2 separate regions of the Homo sapiens genome follow, and region 2 is linked to region 1. Evidence: promoter capture Hi-C in 16 types of primary human blood cells and fetal thymus (Javierre and others, 2016). All regions are on one chromosome and are shown on one strand. The core of a region is centred on a gene start or on the middle of the fragment in contact, and the rest is flanking DNA. Distances in the headings are between cores, read along the strand shown. Region 1 holds the start of GHITM (growth hormone inducible transmembrane protein). Region 2 has its middle 39 kb from the start of GRID1.

What was found. The method cuts DNA at HindIII sites, captures the fragments that hold promoters and counts their contacts. A CHiCAGO score of 5 or more calls a contact.
Region 2: a contact is called between a fragment that was not itself captured here and the fragment with the promoter of GHITM in region 1, in 6 of 17 cell types (naive CD4 T cells, total CD4 T cells, naive CD8 T cells and 3 more). The highest score is 11.2, in naive CD4 T cells.

What each region holds. Positions count from the first base shown.
Region 1 is chr10:84,138,232-84,141,541 of GRCh38, forward strand. It overlaps GHITM (growth hormone inducible transmembrane protein), which reads left to right and starts at 1,278. Exons shown (of 9, transcript NM_014394.3): 1 at 1,278-1,362; 2 at 3,231-3,310. The coding sequence starts at 3,270. RefSeq lists enhancers at 646-1,215, 1,216-1,785 and a silencer at 1,359-1,558. The HindIII fragment of the contact is 9,095 bases long and covers 1-3,310 here.
Region 2 is chr10:86,404,617-86,407,845 of GRCh38, forward strand. No RefSeq gene overlaps it. Among named protein-coding and RNA genes, the nearest start is that of GRID1, 39 kb to the left of the region's middle. The HindIII fragment of the contact is 7,283 bases long and covers 1-3,229 here.

The sequences.
Region 1 (3,310 bases), core at 28-2,527:
TTAGGAGATAAAGGTTCATGAATTTTGCATGTTGTTAATCACCTTATCACCCTTTCAGGGTTTTAATCTGCTCTTTCTTCATGGTATTAAGTTATCACATTATATTTTTTCTATGTTCTGTCTCTACCAGAAAGTAAAGCCACAGAGCAAGGACTTTATTTTGTTAAAATAGTGGTAGCACACACGGGTTTAATTCATTTGCTGTTTTTTTGTTTTTGTTTTTTTGGTTTCTTTTTTTTTTGAGACTGAGTCTCCCTCTATCGCCCAGGCTGGAGTGCAGTTGCGGGATCTGGGCTCACTGGAACCTCCGCCTCCTGGGTTCAAGTGATTCTCCTGCCTTAGCTTCCCAAGTAGCTTAGATTACAGGCACCAATCACGCCTGGCAAATTTTTGTATTTTTAGTAGAGACAGGGTTTCCCCACGTTGGCCAGGCTGGTCTCGAACTCCTAACCTCAAGTGATCCACCCGCCGCGGCCTCCCAAAGTACTGGGATTACAGGCTTGAGCCACCACGCCCGGCTGATTCATTTGTATATATTTCTAGAACAGAGCTTGGTACGAAGTTGAGCATTCAGTAAATATCTGTTGAAATAGAGGGAGAGTGAAAAAGAAAGTAACTCTCTCGCGTATTCCACAACTAGCTCTTCACCTATCAAATTACGCGCAATGGAAACATCTTAGTCCTCAGAGCAATCCTGGGTGCAAGGCAGAGGCGGCTGTTATCAGGCCTATTACACAGGTTTAGGGTGAAACTTGAAAATGTGGGCGGGAAAGTCACAAAGCAATGAAAAAACCATCTAGAAAAAATCTTTTCTGGATGTCACCATCTAACATTTGGCATGAGACCCCAGAAACCGGATGACTCGGCTCAGAAGCAGACACATTTGAAAAGATATTTATCTCACGATAAATTAAGGGACAAAAAGGCCTTCAAAAAGGAACGGAATAAACGGAATAATTTTTAACTCTAACATTACTTTCTTTCAATTTTTACATAATTCTTATAGCTGCGGCGAGTGAAACGACTAAAACAAAAGCAAAACAGAGCTCCACTGCCCAAAACAAAGATGGCCGAGACGACTCCCATGCCCACACGCAAAATGGACGCTGACTATGACGTTCCCTGCAACAATCCTCAACTGGCCCCGCCCCACCAATTTGGAACCCCGCCTCCTCAACCCGGAACCCCGCCTCCCCCAGTGTGGCCGCTTTTCCGACAGAGGCCTGCCCGTGATTGGCTGCTCGTACTATTTACGTCCTTTCGATGTTGCGTCATGCAGTGCGCCGGAGGAACTGTGCTCTTTGAGGCCGACGCTAGGGGCCCGGAAGGGAAACTGCGAGGCGAAGGTGACCGGGGACCGAGGTACTGCTCCGGCTGGCCGGCGGGCGCCCGGGATCCCCGGTGGTCCTGACAGCCGCCCTCACGGGACCGCTGGGTGCGGGGGGAAGGGCTGGAAGCAGCGGTGCTGCTGGCTGCGTCAGGGCCGGCCTGCGCGTTGGGGTCGCAGTCCTGTGGGTGACCTGGTGGAGAGGGCGGCGGCACAAGGCCCTGGTCAGGCGGGCAAGGGCTCAGTGTAGCTGTGCTTCTGTCCTCGGGCAACAAGGTGCTGAGTCATCCTTGCGGCGAGGCCGTACAGCCGCTGCGCTGGTAGCGGCACCTGGGGCAGGGGCAGAGGTGTTGTGGGTTGACAGGGAAGTTTGCTGCCGGGTTCTCATCTGAATCTAGCGGGCTGGGTGAACTTTCTCGGGGACCAGGCACCCAAACTCATCAATGCTCACGGAGGCATAAGCCCTTGGATTAGGGTCGGTAGTATTTTCCCCATTTTATAGCAACGACATCTGAGTCTTAGAGATCCACACTCCTCACAAGGTCACTTCTAACCTGTCAGAAGCGGGATTCCCACTCTGGGCTGTTACGCCACATGGAGGTCACTCTGAGCTGGACCTCTTCGGCCCCAACCAGTGGACTGAGTACTGAGGAAGATACAGGACAGCCATAGGTTGAGATGATGTAATGGCACGAAAGTTCCAAAAGCGCTGGGTGTTTTCCCAAAGGCCGGGTGCCGAATTTTAAGACCCTTAATAGTTCAGTTGCAGAGCTCGGAGGACGCTCGGGTATCTTAAAGCAATAGTTCTTAGCTTTTGGAGTGTTCGTTAAAACACACGTTCTTGGTCTTATTCCTAGGGGTAGAATCATTAGGAGCAAAGAAAGACCCAGGAGCCTACATTTTAAGATGCATCCGGGGCACTTTCAAGCAGGTAGTCTAAGGGTCAACGCTGTAGTCTGAACACGGAATCCTTATGTTACAGATGGGGAAATGGGCCCAGAAGTATATCACTTGCCTAGAATTCACTACAAATCATTGGCAGAGATGGGCTGGTAGCCCCAGTTGGTTTACACTCGTCATTTCATTCTGACCTATTGTAGTCACCTCACCTTAGCATTACAGAAACACTGTCTGCTGACTTCTGGTTGACCACCCATCTAGTATAATGTGCCCTGGAGCTAAGATAATCCAGTTTTTAGCATGCTTTTCTTTTGAAGACACCATCGAGGGAGTCTAATGTAAGGGAAACCTGGTTGGTAACTGAGTTTACTTGTTTACTTTGAAAGACTAAATGTCCTTTACGCATTATAGTAGGACATATAGAATAGGTTAACTTAGAATATTTTTATATCTCATGTTGAAGGAAAGTAATATTTGGTATGATTAGCTGAAATTCATATAGTTGGCTTCTTTTAATACCTTTTAGCTTTGTAATGCAGTATAACCTTGAAGAGCTATTCATGTCTTCTTTGGATGACACTATTCCTTTGCCCAAAAGTTATGTAGATTCTTTTAAATTTTCCCACTGGATGCTGGTATAAATCTTAAGCCAAAACTACATTTGTAAAAACCATCACAGACTCTGTAATCACGTCCAGTTATTAACAGCCGTTCTGTGTTACACATAATTTTTGCAGTCATCTATTTTGATTGGTCAAACTGGGACTTAAACCTAGTTTGTTCCTCCATCTTCAGCTGTGTTCTCTGGGATGGGTTTCTTGCATTACAGTGGATGGTTGGGCAAAGAATTCATCGCTGAAAATTAAAAAGGTCGCTTTATTTCCTGTTCTACTAAAAAATAGTTTGTTCCTTGACTCTGACTCTCATATGTCCTTCTCTTAATTGGTTAGTAGGTTGTTTTACTTATGTTTTTTTGGTTGGTTTTGCCTTTTTTTTAAACTAGCATTTCAGATCTGCTCGGTAGACCTGGTGCACCACCACCATGTTGGCTGCAAGGCTGGTGTGTCTCCGGACACTACCTTC
Region 2 (3,229 bases), core at 84-2,583, 2.3 Mb after region 1:
AAAAATTTAAAGACTTTATTATAATATATGAAGGACATAAATAAATACAAGAGTATAATGTGTTTTTAGAAAACTCAATACCAAATGAGGTCAATTTTTCCCAAATTGATTTCTAGAATCTATGTAATTCTAAACAAAAACCCCAATGGCCATATTTGAGGAACTTGATAAGCAGATGCTGAAATTTATCTGGAGGCTGGGCACGGTGGCTCATGCCTGTAATCCCAGCACTTTGGGAGGCTGAGGGGGGCAAATCACTCAAGGTCAGGAGTTCAAGACAAGCCTGGCCAACATGGTGAAACCCCGTCTCTACTAAAAATACAAAAATTAACCAGTCATGGTGGCATATATCCCAGCTACTTGGGAGGGAGGCTGAGGCAGGAGAATTGCTTGAACCTGGGAGGCAAAGGTTGCAGTGAGCCAAGATTGTGCCACTGCACTCCAGCCTGGGAAACACAGCAAAACTCCATCTCAAAAAAAAAAAAAAGAAAGAAATTTATCTAGAAAAGCAAAGGCCCAAGAAGAGTCAAGTAGCCATGACACAGGTAGGAAGAGGAGGATAAAGGACCTGATTTACCAGGTCAATATTTATAATGAAGCTACTATAACTAAGAGTGTGGTGTTGGCAGAAGGATACATAATAGACTAATGAAACAGGATAGAGAACCTAGAAGCAGCCTCAGAAAAATATGAAAACTTGACATCCAACAAAGGTGATTTTGAATACTTTATTAGTTCCCTATTGCTACTGCAACAAATTACCACCAATTTAGTTACTTAAAGCAATACACATTTATTATCAGGCAGTTCTGGGGGCCAGAATTCTAATGTGTCTGCAGGGCTGTGTTCCTTTTGGAGGTTCAAAGGAAGAATTCTTTTTCAGCTTCTAGAGCCAGCCTACATTCCTTGGCTTGTGACCCCTTCCTCCATTTTTAACGTGCATCACTTCAACCCCTGAGCTACTTCTGTCTTTACATTTCTCTGATTCTAACTTCTCTGCCTCCCTCCAATGAGGACCTTCTGATTATACTGGGATCACTACGTAATCCAAGATAATCTCCCCTTCTCAAGATCCTTAACTTAATCATACCTGCAGATTCCTTTTCTCCTTAAAAAGTAACACATTCACAGTTACAGAGATTAGTATGTGGACATCTATGGAGAGCCATTGTTCAGCCTACCACAAAGACCAACAGGGAAAGGACAGAAATGGTGCTGGGACAATTGGTTGTTCATATGGAAAAAACACAAAATTTATATTTTTAATACAAAAAATAATTTCAAAAAGATCACTTAAATGTGAAAATCAAAGTTTAATAGTTTTTGAAACTAATGTAGGAGAATGTTTTAACAACTTCGGTAGAGAAGGATTTATTAAATAATATATTAAAAATTGGAATCATAAAAGATTGGGCCGGGTACGATGGCTCACACCTATAATCCTAGCACTTTGAGAGGCCGAGGCAGGTGGATCACTTGAGCCCTGGAATTCATGATCAGCCTGGGCAACATGGCGAAACCTCATCTGAACAAAAACACAAAAACATTAGCCAGGCATGTTGATGCACACCTGCACACTGGTAGTTCCAACTACTCAGGAGGCTAAGGTGGGAGGATTGCTTGAGCCTGGGAAACAGAGGTTGCAGTAAGCCGAGATCACGGCACTGCACTTTAGCCTGGGGAAAAAAAAAAAAAAAAAAAAAAAAAACCTTCCAGAACATGAAGGCACATTTCATCGTCATTTTAAAACAAAAAAAGAATAAGAAGAAAAGAAAAGATTAATAAATGCAACTGCATTAAAATTTAGAAGCTCTATTTCATAAAAGACACTGTACAGAAAGTGTAAAGTCAAGCCACAAACTGGAAGAATATATTCACAACATTATAATCAACAAGGAAATCATATTCAGAATACGTAAGTATAAAAATCAATAAGAGGCTGGGCATGGTGGCTCATGCCTGTAACCCCAGGACTTTGGGAAGCCGAGGCAGGCAGATCACTTGAGGTCAGGAGTTCAAGACCAGCCTGGCCAACATGGAGAAACCCCGTCTCTACTAAAAATACAAAAATTAGCCGGGCATGGTGTCAAGTGCCTGTAGCCCCAGCTACCCAGAAGGCTGAGACACGAGAATCTCTTGAACCCGGGAGACAGAAGTTGCAGTAAGCCAAGATCATACTATTGCATTCCAGCCTGGGCAACAGAGTGAGACTCTGTCTAAAAAAAAAAAAAAAAAAATCAATAAGAAAAAGATAAACAACTCAATAGAAAAATGGACAAAAGACCAGTGGTCTGTAAATATGCTCAACCTCATCAGTAATCAGGAAAATGGAAATAAAGATGACACTTGAGATGCTAATTTATGTCTACCAAATTGGCAAAAGATTTCAAATCTGATTGTTCAAAGTGTTGGTGGAAAGATAGAGCAGTAGGGACGCCTTTAGCTACACATAGGAGTATAAATTGGCACAGTCACTTTGGAAAACAAGTTGACAGTATTTTAAACTGAATATGCACACATCCTATAGCCAGATATTTCACTCTTAGGTATCTATCTAGAGAAACTCTTGTACATATGCATGAGGAGATATTTACAAAATAGATCATAACAGAATTCTTTGAAATTAAAAATCTTCGGAGGGCCAGGCACAGTGGCTCACACCTGTAATCCCAGCACTTTGGGAGGCCGAGGTGGGCGGATCACTTGAGGTCAGGAGTTTGAGACCAGCCTGGCCAATATGATAAAACCCCATCTCTACTAAAAACGCAAAAATTAGCCAGGCATGGTGGTGCACGCCTGTAGTCCCAGCTACTCGGAAGGCTGAGGCATAAGAATCGCTTGAACCTGGGATGCGGAGGTGGCAGTAAGGGGAGATCATACAACTGCACCCCAGCCTGGGCAACAGAGTAAGACTCTGTCTCAAAAAATAATAATAATAATTAAAAAAAAATTCTGAGAACATTCCATATTTCCATGGATGGTCTACTGCATAGATAAACTGTAGAAATTTCATGTAATGAAATATTATCCAGCTGTGGAGATGGATGACCTACAGCTACATGTTGCAATAAAGATAAATCTCAGAAACATAAAAGTGAGTGAGGAAGAAAAAGAAATCCTTAAGAAGATAGCACATTATAAGGTACTATTTTTATGCATCTCAAAAACAGGCAAAACCGAGCAACATGTTGTTTACAGATCATGTTAGTCCATTTTGTGCTGCTGTAAC